Regions from separate parts of the Homo sapiens genome. Here all the other regions are linked to region 1. Evidence: promoter capture Hi-C in 16 types of primary human blood cells and fetal thymus (Javierre and others, 2016). All regions are on one chromosome and are shown on one strand. The core of a region is centred on a gene start or on the middle of the fragment in contact, and the rest is flanking DNA. Distances in the headings are between cores, read along the strand shown. Region 1 holds the start of RRP15 (ribosomal RNA processing 15 homolog). Region 2 has its middle 53 kb from the start of ZC3H11B. Region 3 has its middle 25 kb from the start of ZC3H11B. Region 4 overlaps LYPLAL1-AS1 (LYPLAL1 antisense RNA 1). Region 5 overlaps LYPLAL1-AS1 (LYPLAL1 antisense RNA 1). Region 6 has its middle 150 kb from the start of LYPLAL1-AS1.

Region 1 (3,020 bases), core at 302-2,801:
TTTTTAAAGGTTTAAACTGGAATCTCATCTCTTACCAACTGTATTCAAAATGTCATTTTTTTTCTGCACAATTTTTTGTTGTTGGTGGTGGTGGTGGTAGATTTTGTTTGTTTGTTTTTGAGACAGAGTCTCGCTCTGTCGCCGAGGCTGGAGTGCAGAGTCGCGATCTCCGCTCACTGCAACCTCCGCCTCCAAGGTTCAAGCGATTCTCCTGCTTCAGCCTCCCGAGTAACTGGGACTACAGGCACTCGTCACTGCGTTTGGCTAATTTGTGTATTTTTAGTAGAGATGGGGTTTCACCATGTTGGCCAGGCTGTTCTCAAACTCCTGGACTCAAGCGATCCACTTATCTCAGCCTCCCAAAGTGCTGGGATTACAGGTGTGAGCCACCGCACCCGGCTAGACCCTCTCTCTCTTAAAAGACAAAAAAATTAAAAACCAAGTTTAAAAATGTTGTATTGAGTTTTTAGGATGTGAATATATATTTATTTCCTACATAAACATCTACTGGAATATGTCAAAATGAGGATTCTTGTTTTTGTTTTTGACTTATGGGTATCACAATCTATGAACCTCCTTAAGAGGGGAAAGGGAAAACGCTAAGTTTGGGGAAAGCCTTTAGAACAAGTCTAGCCAGTAAAGGTTTGCTGCATTATCCATCTGAGTCATTAACTTTGTCAATAGTTATATTCTGTCACTCATTCATTGATTCATTCATCCCTTCCAAAAATATTTTTGGAAAATTCACTTCAGGCCAACTTCTGTTGCTAACCTTGAGGGGACATGGTAAATGAAATACGTTCCCCTCCTGCGAGAAGCCAACATTTTAGGGGGGAAAATGAAGGCCGACTGTGGTAGGTGCTTCGATGGAACTAGGAGCTGGTGACAGAGGCTAACTTCAGAGAAAAGCTAGCCCCGGGTGGGAGGCAGGATCCTCGCGCGGATAGCAAGGTATTCGCACCCTCGGTCTGCACTGCGCAGTCGGGCGCCAGAAACCCTCCAGGCCCCAGCCGGGTCCGAGGGAGAAGGGTGCGGTTGGATTCAACACCCGCCCCAGGGAAAGAAGGTGAGTCTATTCGGTTTGCAAGAAAGGTCTCGCGTGTTATCTTGGGCGGGGGGATGATACGATCGTATTCTAATTATCGGCCCCCAGTGGATCTGTCCCGCGTCCTAGCTGCTGCGGCGTTCAGTGGGCACGTAAGAGACACCTGAGGAGGACACTAAACCAACATTAAGGCAGCAGACAAGGGAAGCCGCCGAGGCTAGGAAATCAAAGTGGACCGCGCTGGGCTGGGGACGGGCTGGGGACGCACTGGGGCGGAGGACCAGGGCACAGGCGAGCTAGCGGAGGAGTCGGCTGAGGCCATTCAGCCGCTGATTTTCGTCCTGGAACGGACTTCGCGTAAACACACCGAGCCATTCAGAGCTCTCTCCAAGTCACATTCTGAGGCTCCGGCCCCGGAACTCTGGGCTAGACGACCCCGCCCCGGAACCTTGTGTTACCGGCACTAAATGCAGAAGTTCCTCTGGTTGCCACCGGACGCAACTGTCAGGTGACGCTTCCGGCGCAGAAAAATGGCAGCCGCCGCTCCGGACTCACGTGTGAGTGAGGAAGAAAACCTGAAAAAGACCCCAAAGAAGAAGATGAAAATGGTAACTGGAGCCGTAGCGTCGGTGCTGGAAGACGAGGCCACAGACACTTCTGATAGTGAAGGTAATGTGGTAGGGCTGAGCTTTGGTGTCTGGGAGGAAAGGCGGGGCTGAGTTCGTGTCAAGCAGCGCTTGCGACTTCATTTGCTGCTAGCCACCTGGGTTTTATCTTGGCACCACTTCAGAGGGGCGACTTTGGCTTAGTGAGGAGGCTTGGGGAAGTCGTGTTCAGAGAAGTAACGCTGTCAACTGTAATTTTGAGTTTCCACATTCTTTTACTAGGTATTTTCAGGGTCACCATTATTAATTATAATAAAATGGGTGAAACACCTGCAGCTACCGAGAAACTTACAGTAGCAAAGGGTGAAAGGAAGAGGGTACTTGAAAACAGGAGAAGAATGGGTCTCATAGGGTGTAAGAAGCAAAAGGTTAAAAGAGGTAAGAGGAAGAAGGGGGTGTACTTGACTTTTTGTGCGGTAGATGTGTGCGTGTTTTAGAGACTAAATAATAGTGAATGAAAGAAGAGTTTGGTGGTTAAGGTCGATTAAAAACTGGTAGTGTTTGATAACTATGTCTCTCAGAGACGCTTGATAATAAAAGGAAGGAAGGATGTGTTTTTGAGGCTTTCAACCATGCTGTGTCTGTTGCTCCTCTTTACCATCATTCTTGGCACCAGCTTATTAGGTTACAAGGAATTGCAGGTAATCCCTGACTTCCTACTGCCCAGTTATTGCTCCTTTGTACCAGCTGATACCCAAAAAACAGACAGAGCTATTCTTTTATAACGTATTTCTAATTATGCCCGCTGTCTGTTTGAGATGATCCAGTGGCTTCTCATCTCAGTATATAATATCCAAAATCCTTAGGCTGTATGATTTGGGCCAGGTTGTCTGTCATAGGCCAATATGCCCCTCACAAACCACTAACTGTAATCATGCCATACCGGTATGCTTGTGTTTAACACCTTAAACATGCTCCCACACCATGGTTTCTTCATTTGTTGGCTCCGCTGCCTAGAATAGTTTTCAAATGCTTGGCATGTCTCTCCCTCACCAGCCTCTGATCCAGTGCCTTACCAGAGAGACTTGTCCCTGACTACCCTATGTAACGTACCACCACTACTCTTCTTCCTGCCTTCTTTTCTTCACTTTTTGACTTATTGCCCTGCTTTATTTTTTCTCAACCCTGCCCAAACCATTTGATGTATGTATTTGCTGCTTTCCCAATTGGAATATAAGTTCCATAAAAATAGAGCCTACTGTATCCCCAGTTCCTATTGCCTTGTGGGTCCTTCACAGATATTTAAGTAAATGAATGAATTAACCTGGACTTCCAGGACCAAGAAGAAAGTGTCATATGCTACTGCAATT
Region 2 (3,020 bases), core at 315-2,814, 1.4 Mb after region 1:
GTGAAGGAAGATCCAGCTAGCTGTACAGTGGTGGTAGTGCCTTTCAAGTTTGGCTCTGCTCCCTAAAAGGCATAGGCATTCACCTGTTTCATCAAGGTAGGGTATTGTCAGGTGTGTCCAAGTGCATTAGAAATGTCACCGATGTTACCAGCTGCTTCCTAAGAAGAAAAAAGACCTAGAACCCGAATTATGAACAAACAGAGTCTTATTTACATAACTGATATCAGAACTCACATGTTGTGTCCACACTTAGTCTAAGTCCAAATAAAACTGAGAAAGCACATAAACTATTCAGCCAGATATTTAGCATTTTATATATTTATAAGTATATATCTATATCTATATCTATATATCCATATCTATGGATAACTATGTAGACATTTTTCTATTTTTTAATCCAGATGTTCTGATGCTATATTTACATACGTATATACATAAATAGTCATAGTCATCAGATTTCTAATCTGTTGCTTCAACTCCCACATCTTCCAAGTTTTTGACTCAGCTAGGATCACAGGTACCCACTTCTGGATGCACACACCTCACACACAATGCTGACCCTGATGGGATTTTTAGATGAGTTTCAGGGGGTCTCAGGGAATCTCATTAAAAAAAAAACTGTCAGACCCCAGAAATTAACTATTTTCTTGTTTCCAGACTTGCTGAGGAAATATTTTTCTCTTTTTTAGAGAAAATGTATACACCATACCCTACAAGAGCATGTGTCATCTAAACTGTATAAGGGATCATTTGCTGTTGGTGACTTTGAAGTTCTGAATAAATACTCAGAACAAATATCATATTGAAAGTCAAGCCATTGACAGACATGGACACAGCCGCACATTGCCCAGCACTGCTTTGCTGCAGAGAGTTTGCTTTATAAGCTCACGACGCCAGGATAGTCCAGCATTTTGGTCACGTGGGGCTAAGACCAAATTATCAGACTGAAAAAGAAGCAGCCTTGCTTGTGCAGAGAAGGAGAGTCATCAGCATCCTGATTACTTTTAGTGATACAACATATATCTCCCTTTCTTTTCTCCAAGAGTCGTTATGAAAATGGTGATGAAGGTTGCAGCCACTGTCAGCTCCTCCAGGACCGACAACAAAAAGTAGACACCTCACTACTGAAAGTAAGATTTTATATGATTTCTGCTTCCTTTTGTGATTTGCCTCCATATTCTCCTGCCAAAGAATGCAACAGCTTCATAAACAGTGACATGAGGACAGAGCTTGGCTTTCCAATCTAAGTTAGAAGTGGTTTGGTTTGGACCTGCTAAGGGGAAGCATTCTGTATTCAGTCTGATTGGTTCACTCAACCCTCCTTCTAAAGAAAAAGAAGTCTTACCCCCCAACTTTCAGAACCACAAAACACGAAACCATTCATCTCTCACTTTAGAACTTTGCTTGAACCACTCAACACCCCTAACTGAGGCATGCGTCTCTCCATTCAGGGAAGCCCGTTTCTCAGAGCCAAGCACATTTCTATAAATGCTTCATGTGGGAAGGAACAAAACCAATAAGTCAGAAAGCTGACTCAGAAATGATTGGAAGTGTTTCCTTTCTTCCCCCAGCAGATTTGTTGCTCCATGGTGATTTTCCGGTGTGATCATTATGCAAGGCTTGGCTGACTGTCAGTAAAGGACAGAGTATTTGGCTATCACTATTATGACTTTTACATTTGGGGCAATTGCTTTCAATGAATACAAATGTGCCAGTGAGCAGGACTAAAGTACACAAGTTATGCTCCACAGCAAGCTCTGATGAGCCAACACCTCAGATTTTTGGGAACCTATGGCCTGGCCTCGTTTATCTTTCTCAAAAATGGAAGCCACTGCAGGGGCCATAGCATTGGAAGCCTGGGACCCACCACTCAACTGGAGTCTGGACAACAGGCCATGGACCTCAGGACTCTTGGGCCCTCGGTGTTGTGTCAATCAATCAGCAAACACTTATTGATCACTTTGCCAGGTCCAAATGGCATCAAGTTTTTCACTTGAAAGGGCGGTCACTAGTAACAAATTTTGCATTGTAAAGATAGTGCTGCCTACAAGACACATGCAAATGAATTACTCTTTTTCAGTCCTGACAACGGCTCCACTAGGTAGCCGCTACTCTTGTCCTTACTGCACAGATGAGAAAACTCAACCTCGGAGGAGTTCAGTGCTATGCCCCAAATCACAAAGCCGGCAAATTCAGAATCACATTTAGGCCTGATCTCTTTCCACTACCCATCGGCTGGGAACATTAGCAAGGAACTTGGTCCTGGTGCTCTCCTTGAAAGAGTCCCATGTTCCCAAGAGTGGTACAAAGTTCCTTGAGAATCGAACAGCCAGGGCTACAGGAGGGAGAAGTCCCTGCAGCTCCCTGCATACCCAAAGGCCACCGGGCCTCCTTGCTGTGGTTCCTTCAGAATACACCATCAGGTAGATCATTCCTGAATTTTATGTGTCTAGCCCACGTCATCAGGAAAAAGGGAAGGTGCGACAAGACTCATGTTCATGACAGAGTGTTTAGACGCAGAAGCTCTGGAATCAGAGAGACCAGCTTGGAATGCTAGCTCTGCACTAATTTGGTGTGTGAGCTTCGGCACTTTTGGTCTTCTTGTTTTGTTGTTCTTTCTTTTCTTTCTTTCTTTCTTTCTTTCTTTCTTTCTTTCTTTCTTTCTTTCTTTCTTTCTTTCTTTCTTTCCTTCTCTCTCTCTCTCTATTTATTTTGAAAGAGGGTCTTCTTCTGTCACCCAGGCTGGAGTGCAGTGGTGCGATCTCGGCTCACTGCAACCTGTGCCTCCCAGGTTCAAGCGATTCTCCCACCTCAGCCTCTTGAGCTGGGGTTACAGGCATGCACTACCTCACCCAGACAATTTTTTTTTTTTTTTTTTTGGTGGAGACAGGGTTTCACCATGTTGGCTAGGCTGGTCTCCAACCTCAAGTGATCCACCTGCCTCGGCCTCCCAAAGTGCTGGGATTACAGGTGTGAGCCACAGTGCCCAACCTGTTTTGCTTTTTAATTACTTTCACTTC
Region 3 (3,020 bases), core at 378-2,877, 1.3 Mb after region 1:
TTGACATATGGTTATCTATGTGTTGTTTTGGCCTTTCTTTATAGTCTATCATATTTTAGAGTGGCGTGTACCTGTTTCTCTTGAGTCCACCCACCCTCTACTTAATGTTTTGCAAAGCACAGGATTTGTGCCATTACTGGAAATAAGAGAATATTAGAGACATAGTATTTAAAAATATGAGCTCAGGATAAGCCCTGGAAAGGAGTTAAAGGCCCTTCCCAGGGTTCTAACAGAGGCCCCCAGCCCACCTTCTTTTCCTGCCCTGAATTCTGTCCTGTATCACAAAGGGTCTCCCATGCATGTCTATGGACTCAACAACCCACATATCTAAGCACCAAATATATCTTGCCTACCTAACTGTCTCCTCTTGCCCACTCATCACACTTAGGGGTACGTATACACCAGCAGCACAGTCCATCTTCAGCAAGACAAACATGGGGAGAATCTGAAAGATAAGTGTCTGGAGTGAGCAGTGAATGTCAAAAGTGAATAGATTCTGAAAGGACTTGTCCCTTTGACCCCATGGCCTACTCTTCCCAAGGGTGGGGCACAGCTGGAGGAAAGTCCAAGAAGGGTCCTCTAAAGATTGGAGTTCAGAAGGGGCCGAGTTTCTGGAGTCCAAGGATATACTGTCCACTCTTTGTCCAGCAAATGTTCTTCCAGCCTGTCTAAACACTTGAAAAGCTCATCACTAACTACATAAGGTGCTTCAGTATTTAGTAAGAGCTACAAACTCAGAAAAGCTAGAAGAGCCAGAAAGTAACATAAATGAGTGAAGGAGGCTGATGCAGGTCCTCCAAAGAAAGTTGGAGGGAATGTGGTGAGCTGGAAAGCACATGTGCTGTCCAAAGGAAACAGCCTGCAGGCTGGAGGAAGTCTGAGCTCAGTTTCACTGGATCTTCCAGTTTTTCAAAATAAATAAATAAATAAATAAAGTCAGAAATAAAAAATGTTCAATTTCTTGCCTTTTAAATGTTAGTAACTAATTCAAAATTTGTTTTAAACACTCTGTGAGACCAACAAGCCACATCTGTTAGCAGGCTTTAGCTCATGAGCTACCAGTTTGCAGCCTCAGAAGAAAAGATTTCTTCATTAGATTGTGTCGAAATCTGCTTCCTTGAGAATCCACACATATGGAGGAACCAAAAGTCACTATCCCTCTTCCACATATCTCAGTTTGAAAGTAGATCACATTTCCCCAAATATCTTTCGGAGACTACTTAGCCAACACACATTCAACTGCTGCTTCTACAGAATAGCTTCTGTATCTCAGTGTTGCAACCACCCACCTCCAGAAGCCCCCACCATCTGTTTTCCTGGGAGAGCAACAGAATGAGCAAAATATTTCAAAGATGATTGCTTCTTCTTGCTAGTAATTATTTTTCTTAGTATTGCATGTCTGGGTCCAGAAAGGGAAATAATGACTCAATCATCAAGCTTCTTGTACAAGGCTGGCAATTTCAGGAAGTAGAAGGAAGACTAACACTGTGAACAGCATTCTTGATTAGCCAGAAGTATAAAATGAGGTGTGCATTTGATCCACTGTCAGAGTAGCAGATGGAACACAGCAACCATGACACGGTAGAGGTAGGACTTAATGGATCATCCTGAAGTGCCTGGGACTGATTAGCCGTGGTGCAGCTACATGCAGTTTTTAATTGATTGATTTGAGTTTGTGGTCAGAAAATGGCTGTCGGCTCCAGCTTATCTATAATTATCAGTAATCAGAACCAGACCTCTCTCTCTCTTTAATAGGCCAGGGCTCCTCCAGCATGCTTGACTTTTCTACTTTTCAAGACTTTCTGTAACCACTGCCTGAAAGCTTTCACGGCCATAACATGATACCTGGTGCCCATTGGGAAAAAGACTCTGGGGGCATGAACATAAAGGTAACAAGAACACTGCTCTTTCATTAGCTTAATACTTTGCCTATTTTGAGTTCAAGACAGTTTAAAATTAAGAGGAGGCCTCTTACAGTTTAGCCAGTCTATTATAGGCAAAACCAAGTGAAAGATTGAAATAAGAATTCCTGTAACTCTAGCCCAAAGCTCATTTTTAACCTAAAAAATGATCTCGACACTAATTAGAGGCTGGAACTATTTCTAGGAGTCAGAGTGTCCCTACCCTGGGTAAAGCACCATTAACATTTCAACAGGCCACCCAAATCAGAAAACTAGGAAGTATTTTAGACCCCTTCTCCTCCTCACAGTCCCCTGTCCCTGACACATCCAATCACTAAGGCATCTGATTCTACCTTTTGAATCTGAGTGACTTTAGAACAAGTGTCCTGGAGTCAAAGAGACTCCAGGTTCAAATTTGAACCTCCAAGAGAAGTTCAAATCCTCCTGCCATCACTTATGAATTGTGAGACCTTAAGCAAGTCATTCTCCCTCCTATGCCTCATTTCTCTCAACTCCATTGCAGAGTTACTATACCTACCTTAAGGGAGATTAAATAATGATGAAATGAGACAATGTATGTATCAAATGCAGCGTTTGTTGTATATGTGCTTAAAACTTTATTTAAAATATTATTATTGATTTGCTGTCTCTATCCTCACCAGTACAACCTAAATCCAGGACAAAAAGTATCACAGCTAGATGAAGAAGGATGAGGAGGATGAAAAAGGGAGAGGAGGAGGGGAGAAGAGGGAGAAAGGAGAATGATGAGGAAGAGTAAGGGAGGAGTAGGAGGAGAAGTTTATGATGGTGGCGACAGCTACCTTCATTGCCTCTAAATGTGAATTCCCCTTGCTGCCACCTTGTTACCAGGGCCAGCTCCCTGGGGGTGTACCTGTGCCAATGGTGCTGCCACTAACTGAAGTTATAGGGGCATGTCTGCCGAAAGCTCTTCCACCACCTGCTAATGCAGACTGACAATCCACTGTGCTAAAATATCTTTTACTTCTGATCTCTTAAAGGCCATGCTTTGTCACTTTAATCCCAGAGATACAGTATCTAGCTCTTTCAAAAATCTCTCTGACACTTTAATCCCAGAGATGCAGTATCTAGCTCTTTCAA
Region 4 (3,020 bases), core at 362-2,861, 1.2 Mb after region 1:
TATATAGAATAAAAGATCTTCCCGTCCTAAAGGAGCCATCCTTTGATCCCACCCCTCAGTAGTCTCTCTTCTTACTGCTTCATTGCCTCCTAACCTCCCAACCACTTTCCCAAAATGGGAACCACAACATGGAATTTGGATTTTGAGTAGTCCCTGATCCTCTTGCTGACAAGGTTTAGGAAGGAAACAGAGGGAGGATCTGTGATTCTGTTCTTTCAGTAGAAGGTGAAAGTAGTTTTTTAAGATATTTCATAGGCATTATCTTATCTGAGCCTTGCAACAATAACCCAGTGAAGACAAAAAGCAACTTTTATAATCTGCCCTTCTCCATTCAGTTAAAGAAACTCAGAGCTAAAAAGGGTTCTGAGAATTTTCTAAAATCATTCAACTAGTGAGGAACCAGCCTGGCCTTCTACTACAAAAGGCAGTGATGCTTTCACCACCTCTTCCTACTTCTTGGTTCACTGATGATGGTTCTATGCTATTAAGATGGAAACTATTTATTGGGTACATTATGGGTCCAACAGGCTTTAGTGAACTGGGCTGACCTGGGGAAGTAACCATCAAACATGACTTTGTTTCATCGGAAAAATTTGTTCTGGGTTCTAAACAGCTGATTTACATACAATATTTTAGTACACAGCTCATTTTAAATTGAGGACTGCCTGTACTAAGCTTCTAACTTCTAAGGATAGAAAGATAGTCCCTTTTATTTTTCCTGTTCTGCTTTTGGAAACTACCAACAAGGGTGCCAATTAGCACCAGATGGGACAGGGACTGTGTGATGTGGAACTCCGACCACTGGGAACTGGAACAAGTCCACTAATGTATTAAGCAATCGAAGAGCCAGAAGTTGGGCAGGCTTCAAATTTGGCACAATGTAAAGTTCGGATCTGTAAAGGCCCAGCTTTATACACAGAATCTGTCCCTTCTCGACTCACTGCCTATGAAGACTAGCAAGGGGAATGGGAATTTAGAACTCTAATACCTTCAAGCCTGTAGACTTTTATTTGCATGTTGCCTTTCACTCTGTATCTTTTCTCCATTTTGAACTTGAGTAAATCTTTATGGAATAATTAAGAGGAGGTGTAAATGCTTGTTTATCTTGGAAACCTGGATTTTAAGTCTATAATTCTTACTTAGCTGCCTTTACTTTCTGGATATCTTGATTTTTTAAATAATAACTCTGCATACGTCCAAAGTCAAAATTAAGAGTAGAAATGAAACATCAGGTTAACTCAAACTCAAAGGTAATTGAGATTTAAATGGTATGTTTACTAAAAACATAGATAAGTGAAGCAACATGGGAATTTCTATCGATATTATTCAGATAAATGTCTATTTTCTTCTCCTCGTTTAGCCAGCCACGTGCCTTCAATGCAAGTTTAGCTTGCTGAGTTTTGTCACTTACCACTCATGCTGTACTACATTAGCTTTCCCAGGCAGTGATCTAAATCACCTTGAAGACTGTTGAACACAAGATAAATTGAACGCAATCTTGCCTCAGCTTCATACAGCCTGTATTTAATAGAAATGAAGTTAGGTTTTGCCTATAAAATGAGTGTCTTAGATCTGAGCACTACTTTCCAAATTTTTTTCTTATTATGGCACATATGGAAAATGATATTATTTAGTAGTGCTCACTGGTCTAAAGAGATAGATAAGGTAGCTCATGGCTAGGGAAAAGTGACTGAGGGCTCGAGGTACCCCAGATTCTGCCCAGCCAAAATAGGGCTGGGGGATCAATACCTTGACACACCTGGATTAGTAGCACAATGTGTTCACATCTACCACTGGGAACACCAGATTGGAAGCTCTGTAGTAAAAGATATTTAAGGACTATTTGGAGATTCTATGACTTCTTTATAGTATAATTTACTGGGACTTGACCACCGATGTGTGATTTGGGTATTATGGTTCAAAACTTTCTAAATCATAAACTGATCCCAGAATGTTTGATGCTTGGTTAACAGCATGGAAAGGCCCCTAATGCTGGGATGACCAACTGTCCCAATTTGACCAAGAATGAGGGGTTTCCCATGACGTGAGACTGTCAGTGCTAAAAGCAGGGCAGTCCTGTATAAACCAGGGCAGTTATCTCCTACCTACACTGTATTAAAATCCTTTATTAAGGAAACAAAGAAAAGAGAATCCAGGGTTTCTGCTTTCAGGGCTTGGTGTTTGTTGTAGTCTTTCTTCCCCGGCCATTGGAACCAGAGGCAGCACCCCTGTGAACTGGTCATAGAGTCCAGGTCATCTATGGTTTAAAAAGCAGAAGGCTATGATTTTTCTTATAAAATGTTTTCCTTTGTAGAGTTGTTTTTGCCAGTTCCAAGAGGAAATAGTGGGCTGAAATCAAGAGGCATGACTGGATGACTAGTACTAAGCAAATGATTCGTGCAAAGATTTCACTGGAAACATTCAGACTCATAACAATAGTAGTTCTGACATGACTACCTCTTGCCTGAGAAACTCATAAACATGGCCTCTAGGCTATACTTTTTTTTTCAGCAGCTGCTGGTTCTTTAATTTAATTATAAGTTACAAGTAAGCTTCTTAAAGAGGCCATGTGTGTACCAAACAGTGTTCAGAGGACACTCCGTTCACAAATTTTATGACAGTCAGCACTGTTGGAATTACATGTTCTAATATGAGATGGGTGGACTGGTGTGGGAGAAATAAGAGCCACCATTCTCCTCCTCCCCCACCCAGACTTAAACCAAAATTGTTTTTGAGGTTCAAAAATATTCACATGACAGCTTTCTATGTTTGGCTGGGGCAGACTAAACTGCAATGCCAAGAAAATGGTTCCTTCTAGCTTTAATTCTAATACAGATGTCACAGGACCTGAGAGGTGCTTCAGTGCTGGGTCCTCGCTCTCACGCAGAGCTCCTGTTTCATTATGAACATTTATTATGCACTTACTTTTGTGCACAGAACTAGGCTTTGCGCTGAATGAGAAATGCGTAAGGTAACAATCTTTGCCCTCAATGTACACACCATGTCTTGAGGGAAAAGCC
Region 5 (3,020 bases), core at 138-2,637, 1.2 Mb after region 1:
GACCTTAAATCAATTATTCACACCTGGGCTCCTGAAATCACCTGCTGATTCTCAAAGGGGATGATTCATTAACAAGTAAGAGAAAGTTTCCGAGAAATGCCTCCAGTAGAATTTTAAAATGCAGTAAAAAGAAAAAAAAAAGTCACTGTAAAATACCACGTGGAAAAAGAAGTGGCTTTTTGTTCTTACATTTTACCGTTATCTAGAAAACTAATGAAGTGGCTTATTTTTGTCACTTAGTTCCAATTAAAATAGAGTATTGCTGTTTTCTAAATGACCACAAAACTACAAGTAAGAAAAGATTATTCAAGGTTTACATTCTGAAATAAATGGTTTGTGTGAAGTTGGGAACTAGCAGAATTATTAGAGTGAACAATGCTTTGAATCCTCAGATTTAGGTTGAAGATTTGACCTTTGAGAATCTATAGTTAAATGCTGTTTATTCTTGTGAATCCCATAAAAGGCCTGGAGCTTCAACGGATTAACTTAAGGCTTAAATGGTAAGCATCAACCTGAACATTCTGGGACAAGGCCTGACTCCTAACCACTGGAATGAGCAAGGAAGCAAAGAGCTCTCCTCTGAATTTCTTAGGTGCAAGAACAGCAGTTGGACTCCCCAAGCTAATGCATTTCTATGAAATTATTGTCTTCTTACTGAAGCTTCCTGGCCCAAGACTTATGCCTCTCTACCTGAAAAATGCCTTTTCCTTCAGCAATGCTGTGATTTTTTCAATTCTGAAGGCTGAATGATCAGCACCACTTCAGTTTAGTTAAGGATTCACTTGGCTAGCCCAGACTACCATGCGTTGACTGACAAGTACAGGTGCTGTCTAAAAGGAGATTAGAAGAGCATTGACTTGCGTTACAGGAGATCGGAGGGTTAGTGAGTCCTTTTTGCAATCAAGAAATAATCAGCCGTGTTCTTAGGAGATTTCACTCTGTTGTAACTGAATGTGATGCTGTACTGGAAAAAAAAAAATAAAGCAGAGCGCTGGGCCTGGGATAATGGTCCAGCTTGTCTGGACCCCATGTCCCCTCATCATGGGAGAAAGCATTTATTCCTTCTCTCTTTCACTCTTTGCTACAACAGATATCAAGTGAGCATGTACATGCAGCACACTCTGCGTGGCAGGCACTGGATATTCCTGAGTGAACAAAAGATGCACAGTCATTGATGTCATGGTGATCACAATCAAGTAGGGTGGAGCAGACAATAAACAAACACATAGATAAAACTGCAAATCCTTAAAGGTCTTATTGGATGCCAGAGATAAATACTTCCACTAAAAATGTCTTAGACAGTAAAGAGATTTAAAAACTAAGACATAGGGTGGTTCCAACAGTGGTCCAGCGACTCAGTCATGCCACTAAGGACCCAGAACTTTCTATCTTCTCAAGTTCCATCTTCAGCATGCTGAAACTTTCTACTTCAGTGGCTTTTTGAGATATTTTTCTAAAGACAGTTCCTTCTCCACAAGAAAATTAACAGCACCTGTTAGATAAAATTCAAAATTAAATTATTTACAGAAAGTTGTTATTAGCCTGCACTTAACTTGCATCTCTTTGATGGGCTTAGTGTACAATGTTATCTTCCTAATGTTAATAATAGTGAAAGATCAGGCTGGGTGCGGTGGCTCATGCCTGTAATCAATCCCAGTACTTTGGGAGGCCGAGGCAGGCGGATCACGAGGTCAGGAGTTTGAGACCAGCCTGGCCAACATAGTGAAACCCCGTCTGTACTAAAAATACAAAAAATAAGCTGGGTGTGGTGGTGCATGCCTGTAGTCCCAGCTACTCGGGAGGCTGAGGCAGGAGAATCACTTGAACCCGGGAGGTGGAGGTTGCAGTGAGCCGAGACCACACCATTACACTCCAGCCTGGGTGACATAGTGAGATTCCGTCCCAAAAATGATAATAATAATAATAATAATAGTGAAAGATCAGTGACACATCCCACATTCATTTAAAGCATTTGCAATGTCTGTTCTCATACAGTTTGTTCAAGTAATGCTGTCTACACAGTCTGCACCAGAATGCAAAATTTTGAAGAGAACTAGCCCCAATCCTTGTCTATACTCCTTTTCATTCTGCCCCAGTGCCATCTCCTATTACAAGAAGCTTCACACATAGACACAGGAACACACTAGCCCGTACACCCACACTCCAGTCACAGACTGTACAAGATCAGCCATAGTCACTGGTGTGCTTTGGGGTGCTCATACCTGTGTGCTGCCTGCTCTTAAAAGAAGACACCTGGGCAAGAGGCCCTCGCAGGCCCTGGAAGTAGGCTTTGGCCACTTGGACATAAAAGTCTGGGGTTCTAGCCTCCTAGAGGGATAGCCACTTTATGTCTTTAAAGAACTCTAGGTGCCTTTGTATTTGTGGGCCCCCTTTTCCATAAAATAAATCACAAGTTATGTCTTACGACTGTGTTGGTATAGAAATAAATATATTAATATGATGTCAGATATGTTTTCAACCTAAAAGTTCATTCTTTTTTTTCTGATTTTAAAAGAAATTTGAACATTTTTGTGGCCCCTAACAGTAATAGGGGCCCTTGGCACTCCACCTATTGTACCTAAAAGATAAATCTGCCTGCCCGGAGCTTAGTCTTGAAGGGGGAAGGAGTGTGTGCTCTAATTTGGCCTAGAGATTCCTTGCCCCATGGGAAGAGGCATAGCCAGAGCAGACCCTTAAGTCTGGACCCTTAAGTCACAGGGCTCAGATTTGGGGTTCCTCATCCACAAGGCTAAGTGTGTTACCATTTCATAATAAACATGTGCACTCAAGTGGGCAGTGAATTTTATTATTATGAAGAGCGTTGAGTTAATACTTGTTCTGCATTTGTATTAGTAAAGATCACATTCTGGTGGCTCTCCTCCATAAGAGAACAGCTGGCTCTGAAAAATGAAAGAACTTCTAGGGAGTCAAAACAACATCTTGCAACTTCTAAATAACAATTTTTCCAGGTTCTTTGCTTCAGTGTTTCAAAAAAATAAATCTCAGGGTTTAGTTTGAGA
Region 6 (3,020 bases), core at 326-2,825, 1.1 Mb after region 1:
TTATCTAAACCTAACTAATATCTCCAAAGCCCCATCTCCAAATGCCATCACATTAAGGGGTTGGGTTTCAACATATGGATCGTGAAGCTGAGGGGAGCACACGTCAGGGCATAGCACTTCAGTTGATATATTAGTTATGTAATTAAAATCCAAAAGAGTAATCCTTTTCCAGAGGGGTTGCTAATAATCTAGTCCTTTCAATTATGTCATTTTGTAAATAAGGAGACCCTTGTCTTATTCTTAATCATCTTTAAATATTTTGGTGCTAGAAGATGGTCTCTTCAGATGGTCACTTATTGTTTCTTAGAGTGACAGAATATAGAATAATAATGTGCATAATAGTAAACTCCTCTGCAGTTTTGCAATGTGTTGAGCCCAAATAATATAAATATAGGGCCCTATGAAAACACACAAAAAAAGGGACACCAAAGCCCAGGCTGGAAATCAAAGAGATGTTGGTTCATGGGTTCAAAAATACAGTTAGATAGAAGGAATAAGTAAGTCCTAGTGTACAGTAGCACACTAGGGTGGCTACACTTAACAATAATTTGTTGTATATTTCAAAATAGCTGGAAGGGAAGATTTGAAATGTCCTCAACACAAAGACATGATAAGGGTTTGAGGTGATGGATATCCCAATTACCATGATTTGCTCATTACACATTTTTCACCTCAACTCCACTGAGTCATCTTTGACACCACGTCCTTTTTACAATTTCATCCAGGACAGTGCTTTATAAATTGTTTATGAAAAGCAACTCCCCATCCATTGGTAAGTTTTTGAACATCAAACTGGAAAAAAATGCATAGATAGTAACTTTCACCTTTTATTAATCTGTTAATCATCATCTATTTAATCAATAAACATTTTCTAAGCACCTAGCTGTATAAGGTACTTTCCAGATACCTGTGGGGGAGGAAAAGAGGATTTGCATGCCATAGTTAAGTGTCATTGTACACATTTTCATCATAACAGTTAAAGGTAAATTCTCTTTCCCTCTTCTGCATTAACAGCATAAGTCTGCATGGAGCTCATATTGACTATTTTCTTGTGAACTAGATAAGCTTCAGCTTGGTTGAGTAGATAACACCACCAAATAAATTCCCTTGGGGATTAAAATGTGTGTGGTGTCAGTGACCTAGCATAAACACAGGCAAATAATATCTGCAGACAAATGGTAAATTTGTATATTTGTTCTCTGAGGCATACTCTTTGAAAATTTCAAGAATAATCTATCTTAGGAATAGATGTTTCCCTTGAAAGAAAAATGGTACATCTCTGGCAAGTAATCAGAGGATACATGAGCATATTATACACACACACGTATATATCTACCACTTTTCATTTCTGAAACAGAAGAATTCTCAAAGGACCATCTTCTGAAACACTAAAATTCTCAAAAAGTTTCCCAGAACAGCGCATTACTATAACTTGACACCATGTTTTAGATATTACCCAATAAATGTTTGCAAGGTAGCAATAAACCTTTTTTCTAATAGCAGGCTTCATGCTGTGCTACCAGAGCGCAGAGGAAATGACTGAGCAGAAAGCTCATATACAGTATGCAAAGGCAGCATCAAAGACCTTCCAAGGCCAGTTCATTACAGTACCTCTGAGGAGGGTCAGAGCCTGCCCTGATTGCTTCCTCATTAGAGGTCACTTGCTTCAGTCCTGTCTAATAACCCCTAAATATGGAAGCACTCAGCAAGGCCACACTTGAGGTAGTCAGAGGTGTTTGGTATACTGGGTTGAGCAGCTGAAAGTTGGAATGCCTTGCAAGTCTACTTATAATAAAAGTGTCCCTTCCACCTATTTTTCTTGACAGTCCTACAGCTGCTGACATTAGCCAGCTCTGCATGTCCCCAGCTTCAAGTGCCAACTGCAACCCAATACGCTTGAGATTTGAGAATCCCATTTTCTTAAAAGTTTATAGAAGCATTCAGGCAGAAGTCCGCCTTTTAAAAAAGGAAATAAGTTATTATTATGCAAACAATTTTCTCTGCATTGGGGCCAAGAGCTTTTCAAGTTAACTGATTTTAATTCGCTAAATTTAATGTGACAGTTTGCCTCTTATTCGGGAAAGGGAAGCTTTGAAACTGAGACTGAAATTGGAGCTATCATGCTCAATTTTATGCTTAGAAAAACATATCGCACAGGTTTGAAGCAAGTTTATCTCTGTGGTTCAGGTGTGTATCTACTGAAGTCAAAGAACCTCACTGCTTTCATTAACTTTGGGCAGACTGTGTGTCACTAATCTGGTTAATAAGATTAGGACCTAAACACACTTGCATGGCTTTATTTTCTACTAGGCTCTAGTTACATTTATAAACATTTACAGTTTCTTTTTACTTAGAGATTGTACTCTTCAAAAATTGAGCTGAAACGAACATTCTGATATTTTTCTTAGATTCACAAGATGTGAAGAAGAAGGAAATACAATAAAAAACAATTTGTGTTTGTTTGTTTATCATGAAACCCTATGCTGAACCCAGATTTTGTAACCCATGCTTTTAGGGATTATGTCTTATTTGTACCTTGAAATTGGTACAATGTCAAGAACATAGCAGTTGTATAAATCTATATCATAAATAGAAAAAAAAACCCTGCATTTACTATTATGTGTCATTCCCTGACTTATGTGTTCTTCCTTTAAGTGAAATTCACCTTACAAGGTAAATTAGTGGGGAGTGTGTTCAGCTGCAAGTGGTATAAAATGAGAAGGATCTTAACTCAAAGAGTACCTCAAATATAACTGAATCTGGAGGCAGACAACTGTGAGCATGAATTCAAAGGCATGATGGTTGACATCTCTGCAATTGTTTTGATCTTTCCTTAATGATGTTGTTTCACATTGCAAAATGGCGACTAGGCAGCTGAAAGGGAAAAGGAAGGCAACCAGTATGTCTGTTCCCTTTCATCAGCAAATCAAAACTTTTTCCAGAAATGCTTAGCAGATTTCTTCTCTTGTCTTCTCAGCCAGAACTGTGTTACCCAGTATCTCTGGCTAGAGGGAGGCTAG

The links. Contacts are between HindIII fragments. The CHiCAGO score rates a contact against its expected background, and 5 or more counts as called.
Region 2: a fragment that was not itself captured here is called in contact with the fragment with the promoter of RRP15 in region 1 in 1 of 17 cell types (monocytes); the score reaches 5.9 in monocytes.
Region 3: a fragment that was not itself captured here is called in contact with the fragment with the promoter of RRP15 in region 1 in 1 of 17 cell types (monocytes); the score reaches 7.2 in monocytes.
Region 4: a contact is called between a fragment that was not itself captured here and the fragment with the promoter of RRP15 in region 1, in 2 of 17 cell types (total B cells and monocytes). The highest score is 6.9, in total B cells.
Region 5: a fragment that was not itself captured here is called in contact with the fragment with the promoter of RRP15 in region 1 in 1 of 17 cell types (total CD4 T cells); the score reaches 6.3 in total CD4 T cells.
Region 6: a fragment that was not itself captured here is called in contact with the fragment with the promoter of RRP15 in region 1 in 2 of 17 cell types (naive B cells and total B cells); the score reaches 6.5 in naive B cells.

The regions. Positions count from the first base shown.
Region 1 is chr1:218,283,742-218,286,761 of GRCh38, forward strand. RRP15 (ribosomal RNA processing 15 homolog) reads left to right here and starts at 1,552. Exons shown (of 5, transcript NM_016052.4): 1 at 1,552-1,714. The coding sequence starts at 1,576. RefSeq lists enhancers at 930-999, 1,530-1,809. The HindIII fragment of the contact is 12,027 bases long and covers 1-3,020 here.
Region 2 is chr1:219,664,842-219,667,861 of GRCh38, forward strand. No RefSeq gene overlaps it. Among named protein-coding and RNA genes, the nearest start is that of ZC3H11B, 53 kb to the left of the region's middle. The HindIII fragment of the contact is 3,636 bases long and covers 1-3,020 here.
Region 3 is chr1:219,586,768-219,589,787 of GRCh38, forward strand. No RefSeq gene overlaps it. Among named protein-coding and RNA genes, the nearest start is that of ZC3H11B, 25 kb to the right of the region's middle. The HindIII fragment of the contact is 385 bases long and covers 1,436-1,820 here.
Region 4 is chr1:219,463,026-219,466,045 of GRCh38, forward strand. All of the region lies in intron 2 of LYPLAL1-AS1 (LYPLAL1 antisense RNA 1), which reads right to left. Among named protein-coding and RNA genes, the nearest start is that of LYPLAL1-AS1, 93 kb to the right of the region's middle. The HindIII fragment of the contact is 1,877 bases long and covers 674-2,550 here.
Region 5 is chr1:219,433,922-219,436,941 of GRCh38, forward strand. It overlaps LYPLAL1-AS1 (LYPLAL1 antisense RNA 1), which reads right to left. Exons shown (of 4, transcript NR_135822.1): 4 at 1,237-1,492. It also overlaps a transcript of LYPLAL1 not described here. Among named protein-coding and RNA genes, the nearest start is that of LYPLAL1-AS1, 120 kb to the right of the region's middle. The HindIII fragment of the contact is 1,458 bases long and covers 659-2,116 here.
Region 6 is chr1:219,404,191-219,407,210 of GRCh38, forward strand. It overlaps a transcript of LYPLAL1 not described here. Among named protein-coding and RNA genes, the nearest start is that of LYPLAL1-AS1, 150 kb to the right of the region's middle. The HindIII fragment of the contact is 1,024 bases long and covers 1,064-2,087 here.